Linked DNA regions of Homo sapiens: region 1 is linked to region 2. The links are contacts of gene promoters, found by promoter capture Hi-C in blood cells and fetal thymus (Javierre and others, 2016). All regions are on one chromosome and are shown on one strand. Each heading gives the region's core, a stretch centred on a gene start or on the middle of the fragment in contact. The rest is flanking DNA. Distances are from core to core; before and after follow the strand shown. Region 1 overlaps NUBP1 (NUBP iron-sulfur cluster assembly factor 1, cytosolic). Region 2 holds the start of ATF7IP2 (activating transcription factor 7 interacting protein 2).

What was found. Contacts are between HindIII fragments. The CHiCAGO score rates a contact against its expected background, and 5 or more counts as called.
Region 1: a fragment that was not itself captured here is called in contact with the fragment with the promoter of ATF7IP2 in region 2 in 1 of 17 cell types (fetal thymus); the score reaches 5.0 in fetal thymus.

Annotation. Positions count from the first base shown.
Region 1 is chr16:10,746,072-10,751,561 of GRCh38, reverse strand. It overlaps NUBP1 (NUBP iron-sulfur cluster assembly factor 1, cytosolic), which reads right to left. Exons shown (of 11, transcript NM_002484.4): 3 at 4,286-4,419. Among named protein-coding and RNA genes, the nearest start is that of NUBP1, 5.0 kb to the right of the region's middle. The HindIII fragment of the contact is 2,874 bases long and covers 1,822-4,695 here.
Region 2 is chr16:10,382,458-10,387,699 of GRCh38, reverse strand. It overlaps ATF7IP2 (activating transcription factor 7 interacting protein 2), which reads right to left and starts at 1,639. Exons shown (of 14, transcript NM_001393719.1): 1 at 1,578-1,639. RefSeq lists silencers at 1,761-1,900, 4,946-5,015 and an enhancer at 5,216-5,242. The HindIII fragment of the contact is 4,743 bases long and covers 1-3,348 here.

The sequences.
Region 1 (5,490 bases), core at 2,009-4,508, 360 kb before region 2:
CGCGTCACTTTTTAACTTGCCCTGAATTAGTTTCTTGCCACCCTCTTCAATCCTCTCAACAAACCCAGCCTCCTACTTCCTCAGCACCCAGCGCTGTCTCAAACTTGTGCACGGGAAAACGCCATCCACAGACCAGCACTGGCCTCAGGTGCCCTCTATGGAGCCATCCGGGGAGAACAGCAGAGCGACATCATCGGAAAACCTGACTTGCTCTCTCCGGACCTTGATACTTGGGACTGATGTGTCAATGATCCACGGGGAAATGACACTATCACTATGACTGTGATAGAGACTTTCCTCGATACTCTCAGGTTTCTAGTGACTCTGTCTCCATGCCCTTCCTTTAGGGAACAATTTAATCAATTCCCTTTAGAGGAATTTCACTCCCTTGGGGAGTGAATCTTGAGCGAAATGATGTAAGGATATGAGAAGCAGATCCAGCGCACTCTCTCACTCCCGTGGCAGGCCCGAGAGGCTGTTGACAAGCTCCTGCTACCCAGATGGCCAGGACGGCCCTGGGTCCTGTCTGTTCAGACTTCCTGTTGATCTTATTACTACCCCAAAATCTGTCCATTTAATTTTGCTTAGGTTAGGCCAGAAAAGCAAAGCTGAGAGCAATGCGCCTGCGTTCCTCCCAGCAGGACCTCTGGGCCTGTGTTTGCAGCTGATGGGAAGAGGCCGCGTTTGCTGCAGAAGGTGGAGATGCTGCAAGGCTGTCGGGACCCAAAGCGTCTCCTTTACTCAGCACCCCAAACTGCCCCTGATGAGGAGGGTAGGGGAAGAGGGATTTAGTCCTAACTTTTAGTCCTTGCACAAGTTGCTTCTGCTTTCGAAGCCTTGGCTGTCTGGGCTTCTGATCTGTGAGACAACTGCTCCGGGGTCATCAAGGCCCCTCTCAGCTCTGCAGTCCCAGGACCCAGAGGAGGGCCTCGCACACTCAGTCCTGAAACACCTAGTGCTGACCTTGTTATGACAGTTTGCCTTTCAGATCACAAAGATCATAAATGTTTAATTTATGGTGGCTGGGTGTGGTGGCTTACGCCTATAATTTCAGAACTTTGGGAGGTTGAGGCAGGCGGATCACCTGAGGTCAGGAGTTCGAGACTAGCCTGGCAAACATAGTGAAACCCTGTCTCTACTAAAAATACAAAAATTAGCTGGGTGTGGTGGCACACGCCTGTAATCCCAGGTACTCCAGAGGCTGAGGCAGAACTGCTTGAGCCCGGGAGGTGGAGGTTGCAGTGAGCTGAGATCACACCACTGCACTCCAGCCTGGGCAAAAGAATGAGACTCCGTCTCAAAAAAACAAACAAAAAAAGTTTAATTTATGGAAGTTGGTGACTTGTTATTTATTCATTGTTTTTGAGGTAGAGTCTCACTCTGTTGCCCAGGCTGGAGTGCAGTGGCATAATCACGGCTCACTGCAGCCTTGACTTCCCAGGCTCAAGTGATCCTCCTACCTCAGTCTCCTGAGTAGCTGGGACTACAGGTGCTTACCACCACACCTGGCTAACTTTTTTTATGTTTTATGTTTTGTAGAGACAGGGGTCTCACTTTGAAGCCCAGGCTGGGAGTCGGTGACTTTTGCAGTGGAAGACAGTGTATGACTCTTGGCTGTCTCATGGCTCAGGCTTATGCTACAGAGGCTCCTTCTGCCTTCACCACAACTTACACACTCCCTGGGCAGCCTGTGACTCGTCAGGGGTGTTTTCTAATTCTGCTCTCTCTTGATCCAAGGCCCTTTGTGCCAATGAGATGACAGGCGCCTGCCTGCCTCAAGCGCTAACATGGAATGGTCTTGCACAGAGTTAGAGCCAAGCTTCCACCAGATGGCAGGCAGAAAAAGGTCAGGGCATGTCCCACCACCCTGCTGGATTTAGGGCAGGGAGAAATCTGTGCTGCTTGACTTTAATCAAGACATATTCAGCATTTTCCATGTGTTGACACTTTGCAGATAGTGATGTCACTGTCATGAGTAGGTCTGCCTGGGGAAAACACACTTTCCTAAATGCTGACTTCTTTTTTTTTTAAACCACCACTGCATAAAAAAATACAGCTGATCTAGCCATATTTCCACACTGAATGGTGTGCTTTCCTTCTGTATACTGCAAAGTCTAGACAGGCATGCAGCAAAGACTTCAGAACGTAATTACATGAAAGTGAAGGATGTAAACAGTTGTCTACTCACAAGTGGTTACTTGCAAGTGGTGAGATGAAAGCCCATCTCCAGTGAGCTGTTTAGGAATATTCCTGACAGCTTCGAAAAGCAAAGATTCTTCTAAACGATACAGACAATCTGAGAAAGCAGATTTCTTGGCCAGCCCACTAGGCCAGTACAGATTTGACCCTCAAATGGCAAGAGATCGCTGACTCACAGAATGACGAATCAACGTGTGTGTGTGTGTGTGTGTGTGTGTGTGTGTGTGTGTGTGTGTATGTGTCTGTGTATCTATCTATATCCTTTTTTTTTTTTAAATGGAGTCTTGTCTGTCACCCAGGCTGGAGTGCAGTAGGGCAATCTTGGCCCACCGCGACCTCCGCCTCCTGGGTTCAAACGATTCTCATGCCTCGGCCTCCCGAGTAGCTAAGACTACAGGCACGTACCACCATGCCCAGCTAATTTTTGTATTTTTTAGTGGAGACAGGGTTTCACCATGTTGGCCAGGCTGGTCTCAAACTCCTGACCTCAAGTGATCCGCCTGCCTCAGCCTCCCAAAGTGCTGTGATTACAGTGTAAGCCACCATGCCCTGCCCAACAAGTGTATTTTGAATCTGCCCAGTACTATACCTTGGGTAGGCTACAAACTCATCTCTAAGGCAGATGTAATCATCATCCCTTCATATCCAGAGAGTGAAATAAAGTAATAAAAATGGTGGCCATCACAGACCTTTACTGAGCATTGACTATTCGTCGGGCCCCGTGCTAAGTGCTTTACTGTGCCATCTCACTCAGTCCTTGGAGTCCCATTTTATAGATGAGAAAACGGAGGCAGAGTAAGCCTGGTAACTTGCCCAAGGTCACAGCAGTGGTGTAGATGGAGCTGGGACCTGAGTTTGGGCTGTCTGACTCCAGAGTGTGTGCTCTTAGCGACCCACCAACCCCTTTTATTAAAGTTGAGATCCAGAGGGCAGCAGTGGGTAATCTGAGTTTTCATGCTCGTCTGTATGCATGGGTGGAAATGAATAAACTCGTGTAAGGGCCAGCAAAAATTTTCCACAAGGGCCAACAGCAAATATATTATTAGGCTTTGTGGGCAAAATCAAGGATCATATGTAGGTACTTAGGTACTAATTTAAAAATTGCAATTTTAGGCCAGGCACGGTGGCTCATGCCTATAATCTCAGCACTTTGGGAGGCCGAGGCAGGGGGACGCCTTGAGTTCAGAAGTTCAAGACTAGCCTGGGCAACATGGCAAAACCTCATCTCTACAAAAAACCCAAAAATTAGCCGGGCATGGTGGCAAGCACCTGTAGTCCCAGGTACTTGAGAGGCTGAGGTGGGAGGATAGCTTGATGAGCCCAGGAAGTAGAGGTTGCAATGAGTCCTGATCATAGCAATGCACTTCAGCCTGGGTGACAGAGTGAGATCCTGTCTCAAACAAACAAAAAACATTTCAAAAATGTGAACATTCTTAGTTCAAAGGCCATAAGGCAGGAGATGGGCTGGATTTGGCCCACTGGCTATAGTTTGCAGGTCCCTGGCTTAGAGAAAAGCTAAAAGGGGTTAATAAAGAGGAAAAAGAAGCGTGAACGTAATGTAATAAACTATCCACATGCAAGGACAGATGTACATCTGCTAGCCATTTTCTTGGCTAGGGAATCCAGTGAAATGCTTCATTTGACTACTGGGCATTTCTTTGCTCTCTGCCGGATTGAGATTCCAAAGAGGCCAATTCAACTTAGTATAAGGAATCATTTTTTTTTCTTCTTGGACAGTCTCATTCTGCCACCCAGGCTGGAGTACACTGGTACAATCTTGACTCACTGCAACCTCTGCCTCCTGGGCTCAAGCGATTCTCATGGCTCATCCTCGCGAAAAGCTGGGATTACAAGCCTGCGCTACCACGCCCAGCTAATATTTTGTATTTTTAGTAGAGACAAGGTTTTGCCATGTTGGCCAGGCTGATCTCAAACTCCTGGCCTCAAGTGATCTGCCCGCCTTGGCCTCCCAAAGTGCTGGGATTACAGGCATGAACCACTGCGCCTGGCCTAGGAATCAGTTATTTAGTAGCCATCACGACCCTCAGACAAAATGAGCATCTCCCAGTGGTTCCTGAGGTCTCACCTGTGTGTTTTCATCCTCTGCTAGGCCATGGGCAAGGTGGGCGCTGAATGTGCTTTTCCCAACACCGCCTTTCCCAGACAATACCAAGATTTTGTGTTTTACAGTCTTCATTTTCTCTTTGATTTCCTCTATAGCTGCAAAGAAAACCAAAGTTCAGGGGATGAGGTCCCACACCAAACCTCGAATGTCACGCTTCCAGTCAACTAGAAAGAGCTAAGTCCTAGTCCTAGTACTAGTCCTGGGGCTGTTTAAAACGATCCTCTGAAATACCTCTCAGACAATGGTAGAAATAAGTGCTAGGAAGAAAATAAGGCTATTATCACACTTGAAGGGGTCTCATTTATTGGTTTACACGTTTGTCTCCCCCAACTAGAACATAGTCTCCACAAAGGTAGGAACTGTCTGAAGCTTTCAGTGCTGTATTCCCAGCTCCAGAAGAGAACTTTGCAAACAGCAATGGTCACCAACTTGGGGACAAAATCCCCCAGAGACATTTGGTAATGTCTGGAGACACTGTTCTTTCTTTCTTTTTTTTTTGAGACAGAGTGTTGCTCTGTCGCCCAGGATGGAGTGCAGTGGCGTGATCTCGGCTCACTGCAACACTGCCTCCTGGGTTCAAGCGATTCTCCTGCCTTAGCCTCCCAAGTAGCTGGGATTACAGGTGCCTGCCACCATGCCTGGCTAATTTTTGTATTTTTAATAGAGACGGTGTTTCTCTATGTTGGCCAGGCTAGTCTCGAACTTCCAACCTCAAGTGATCCACCCACCTTGGCCTCCCAAAGTGTTGGAATTACAGGTGTGAGCCACCATGCTCAGCCTGGAGACACTTTTCATTGTCACAGGAGAGGTACTGCTGGCATTTAATGGGTACAGCCCAGATTGTGCTAAATGTCCTACAATGCACAGGACAGCCCCCCACAACAAAGAGTGATCCTGCCCCAAATGTCAGCAGTGCTGAGGTTGAGAAACTCTGATAGACAGCAGGCACATACTAAGTATCTGCCAATGAAACTATCTTATTTCAAATCCTTAAAACAATACACGAGGTATAAAGGAAATTAAAAAGTCTCATGACTGGCCAAACTCAAGTGAAAGTTAAGCCTGGAAACCTCCCAACACTGCTGTCCTCCTCCCCATCAACAGACAGCTGTTACTTCCCAACCTTGTGTCAAAGCATTCTACATTAACCAGACACCTGCAAAAGG
Region 2 (5,242 bases), core at 390-2,889:
ATTAAACTTTGATTACATCAAATGAAATAGATTGTGCACACTCACTATAAGAGAGCTATGATATATGCAGAAGCAAAGGTGCAGGGATCATGCAATAGTTTCGTACCAGATTTCAAGATACCAAGTAGCAAGGAAACACAATGGAATTGAAGGCTGAGGTGAAGTACAGGCATAAGGCAAGGAAAGCAGAACATTCAAGATGTACCTATATACACCAGTTCTTAAAACACGCAAATCATTTCCAATAAGGCACTGGCTCATGTATTTCTGTTGAGGCAGAAGTCAATCTTAGGATGTGGTCTGTACATATCTGCAGATAAGACTGAGAGTGAAGTAAATTTGATTAAGATCGGAGTCAACACTTCTACAAACGTATTGCAGAATAAACGAGCTAAGAAGAAAGGCATACTTCACAAAAGCTGAATTCAGTGTTATTAGTCCTTCATTCAGATGCTTCATTTTTGCATTTTCAATTGCTTTCCTGTGATATAACTTATCTTTATCTTGGTCTTCCCCATTTGTTTTGCAAATAGTTATGTCGCAGGTCATTTACTGGCTACAATAAATATGACAAAATCATAATAAAAACAGTATTAAGTCGCAATCTAGAATAACAATTTAAGTGAATATGACATAATTTTTCTAATGTGGACTATTCAGTACAACTGTCCTCTTCTTCCATACATATTAACCATATGCAAGTCTTCAGAACAGAAAAAGCCATTGTGTCGTAAAGGAAGGAACACGTGGTTAGAAACTTCATTTTCAACACAGAAACACGGAAAGGTAGAAAGTCCGTTTCCTTAAGTGCGGTAAGGTTTTAACAAAAATAAGGCAAAAAAAATTATTGCGTCCTCTCTTTCTCAAACTTGCTTGCCAAACTTGGAGAAAACTGGTTAGAGAAGGGCGATAAGATGGAATTTTCTTAAAAACATATTCATAAAAACGAACTTCTACCTTAAGGAAATCGTCTTCCTTAAATCCTACCATCCTTACACCGGCAAGCTCAGAGGTACGGGATTTCAGCATTTTACTCAGAATTTTGTATTTTTCCTGATGCTCTGGTCCCTACTTTTTAACAAACTTCAAGGCCGCCAGGCGAGATCCAGTTGCCTTCTGGCACCTGACTTCATTAGATGATTAAAACAACTCAAGAAAATTTGGCAATGGGACACTAAAATTGGTGGAGGTGGAGATTTATCCGTTAATTTCTGAAAGCATTCCGGACAAGAGCGAGCTTTTACTTACCCCTCAGGACAAAAAACACGCACCACTTCCCTCCGCAGTCCCTAACCCCAGTGCCGCCCGGACCTGAGGCCGCACACCACTCCCGCTTCACCAGTATCCCTCTGCGAAAACGGTGGAGACGCGCCCGTCCGCCCCTCAGGGGCCTCTTCCCGGACCTGTCAGACGGCCCCGCGGACGCTTTTCAGTCAGGGCAGCTTCGCCGCAAACGTCCGGTAGGCCCGGCGCTCCGAGGCCTCCGGGGCCGGCCCTCAGAGAGGCGACCGACGCTCCTAGAGCCGCCACCCCGCCAATCGCCGCTCTCGCAGGACACTCGCCCGGCCCCAACGTACCTAGAGCGACGACGCACCAGCCGCAGCAATACCCACAGCCACTTCGAACCGCAGCCGTTAACAATGCTGGTCCGGCCAGGACCTGCTGAAGTAGGTCTCCCTACGCCCACCCCCAGCTGATTATGGACCAATGGCAGCGCGAATATGCGGCAGCCCAGCCAGTCAGGCACAGCCAGCTAGAGTGGGCGGGGCGAAGGGTCGCGAGGGGAAATGGAAGTAGGCTGAGGGGCGCCTGGGGTTCGCCTCCGTGGGCGCTTCTTCCGGTCAGCCACCGGGGCTTACCCGCCATAGCGCAGATGCAGGCTCCTGAGCTGGGCCTTTCTTTTGAGTGACTCGTGTGAAGATTTAGACTTTCGAAACTTATTAGGAATAAGACCTTATTTACAAAAACAACTCCTCACCCGGTCGGTAGTTTCCGATTTGAATTTTCTAATATTGTTTGAAAATATTTATCTTATTTACTTTTTTGGACGACTCCTTAAATTTTGTGACTCAGGAGATTGGTCCTAGCACCGTAGTCTTTTTTTTTTTTTTTTTTTTTTGAGACGGAGTTTCGCTCTTGTCGCCCAGGCTGGAGTTCAGTGGCGTGATCTCAGCTCACTGTACCCCCATTTCCCACCTCCCAGGTTCAAGCGATTCTCCTGCCTTAGCCTCCCGAGTAGCTGGGACCACAGGTGTGCACCACCATGCCCGGCTAATTTTTGTACTTTTAATAGACATGGGGTTTCACTATGTTGGCCAGGCTGGTCTTGAACTCCTGGACCTCAGGTGATCCGCCACCTCTGCCTCCCCATATGTTGGGATTACAGGCATGAGCCACTGCACCCACCCGCACCATAGCCTTGAGTTTGCTAAATTGTCCCAGGAACCTGCCAGCCTTGGCTGCTTGTGATTTCATGAGGCCCGATGCCTTAGGTGGCTGTGCACTTGGATGCCATGAACTCACTCAACAGGTGGTCACTGAATGCCCACTGTGTAGAAAATACAGGAAATACAACAGTAGATTAGATCCATAATGCCCTCTTTTTCATTAATTAATTTATTTATTTATTTGACAGAGTTTTGCTCTTGTTGCCTAGGCTGGAGTGCAATGGCGCGATCTCGGCTCACCACAACCTCCGCCTCCCGGGTTCAAGCGCTTCTCCTACCTCTGCCCCCAACAAGTAGCTGGGATTATAGGCATGCGCCACAGTGCCTGGCTAAGTTTTTTTTTTATTTTTAGTAGAGACGGGGTTTCTCAATGTTGATCAGGCTGGTCATGAACTCCCGACCTCAGGTAATCCACCTGCTTCGGCCTCCCAAAGTGCTGGGATTACAGGCGTGAGCCACCACGCTTGTCATGAGGCTAGAGCTGCCTGCCTTGTCACTTCCAGTTAGGAGAAAAATGAGGCAAGTCCGGACAATCTAGGTTGGGTCATCAATGGAATAACATACTCCAACCAGCCAGTTCCCCAAATATGCTCCAGGGATCTAGGGGTAATCTTTAATGTCAATCCTATTTTTATAATTATACTATTTTTATAATAATATAAAGATGATTTTGCTTTTTTCATTCTCTGAGTCAGGAGAGTACATGGAATTTTCTAGAAGCCTCTGGAAAATCGACGGGTGATATTGCTACAGATTGAATACAGAAGCAGACATGAGAATCTAACTACCAACCTGGGCAACAAAGTGAGATACCCACTTTTCTAGAAAAGTAAAAATAAAAAGTTAGCTGCATCCTTCCACCTACACGGGAGGCTGAGAGGACGGGAGGATCGCTTAAGCTTAGGAGTTAGGGACTGCAGTGAGCTGTGATAGTGTCACTGCACTCCACCCTGGGTGATAGAGCAAGAGACTGTCTTAGAAAAGAGAGAGAGAGAGGCCAAGCGCAGTGGCTCACATCTGTAATCCCAGCACTTTGGGAGGCTGAGGCAGCCGGATCATGAGGTCAATAGTTCGAGACCAGCCTGGCCAACATAGTGAAACCCCATCTCTACTAAAAATACAAAAATTAGCCGGGCATGGTGGCGCGTGCCTGTAATCCCAGCTACTCGGGAGGCTGAAGCAGGAGAATCGACTGAACCCGAGAGGTGGAGTTTGTGGTAAGCCAAGATCGCACTACTGCACCCCAGCATGGGCAACAGAGTGAGACTCCGTCTCAAAAACCAAAAAAAAAAAAAAAAGAGAGAGAGAGTCTTACTGTATTAAGTCAGACGTTAAGGAAATTAGCAAAAATGTAAAACAATCCTAATCTTTGCACATTTTTTGTTGTTCTAGAACATGATTTTGAAAATAATTATAGGGTTGCTAAGAGAGATAGTGTGGGAGGGAGTGGGAGGTAGTAAGTTGCAGTCAGATAAGGAATTTGGACTTAATTCAGTTAACAGTGAGTAACTAGCCTTTAGAAATGTTATGTCTATTTAAGGTACTAGGATATCTTGTATGTCATTTTAACAATAGTAATATAATAGGCCAGGTGGACACCTGTAATCCTAGCATTTTAGGATGCCAAGACCGACAGATAGCTTGAGCCCAGGAGTTTGAGACCAGCCTGGGCAATATAGCGAGACCCCATCTCTATAAAAAAATTATAATAATTGATATTTACTGGACATTATGTTAATAAAGTTTATTGTTGGCTGGGTGCGGTGGCTCATGCCTGTAATCCCAGCACTTTGGGAGGCCAAGGTGGGCAGATCACTTGAGATCAAGACCATCCTGGCCAACATGGTGAAACCCTGTCTCTACTAAAAATACAAAAATTAGCTGGGCATGATGGTGCGCACCTGTAGTCCCAGCTACTTGGGAGACTGAGGTAGGAGAATTGCTTGAACCTGAAAGAAGGAGGTTGCAATGAGTCAAGATCACGCCACTGCACTCCAGCCTGGTGACAGAGCGAGACTCCATCTCAATAAATAAATAAATAAATTCATTCACATAATGTGCTATATGAAGTACTATGAAGTCTCTCAATTTGCTGTTTGACTTTTTAAAATAATGCTTAACATAATAACAGATACAGTTGCTTGTACATTTCCTGACTTATAGTAGACACTTGATGTATAGTAACTATTATTATTAAAATTAATAAAGCTGAGAATATCAATTATCTTGAGTAAATTCTTTACATTTTTGTGTTGGAATGCTTTCTTGTTTGATAGTTTTCTTCCATTGAGGATTGTGGCGGGCAGAATTTGTACTCCCATGATCTTTGTCTCCTAGTGTGCGTCTTATGGTTATAAGTCACCTTACATGGCAAAAGGGACTTTGCAAATATGATTAAGGTTGTAATCAGCTGACCTTAAGATGGAGAACTTAACCGGGATTTCCCTGGTGAGTACAGTGTAATCACGTGAATCCCTAAAGGCAAAAGACAAGTCACACAGATGCAGCAGAAAGGAAAGTCATAGATTTTCAAAGCACAGGCAGAACTCAGCCCATGGTTCCTGGCTTGAAGATGAGGGGGACCACATGTAAACCTTGAGAATGAAAGTAGTACTGCCAACGACCTGAATGAACCCAGAAGCAGATTCTTCTGCAGAGCCTTAGCTGGCTGACAGCCTATTGAGACCCTAAGCAGAGTTCCCAGCTGAGTCCACTGTGCTTCTGACTTCTATATAGAACTGTGAGATAAGTGGGTAGTGTTTTAAGCCATTATGTTTGTGGTAACTTTTTATGGC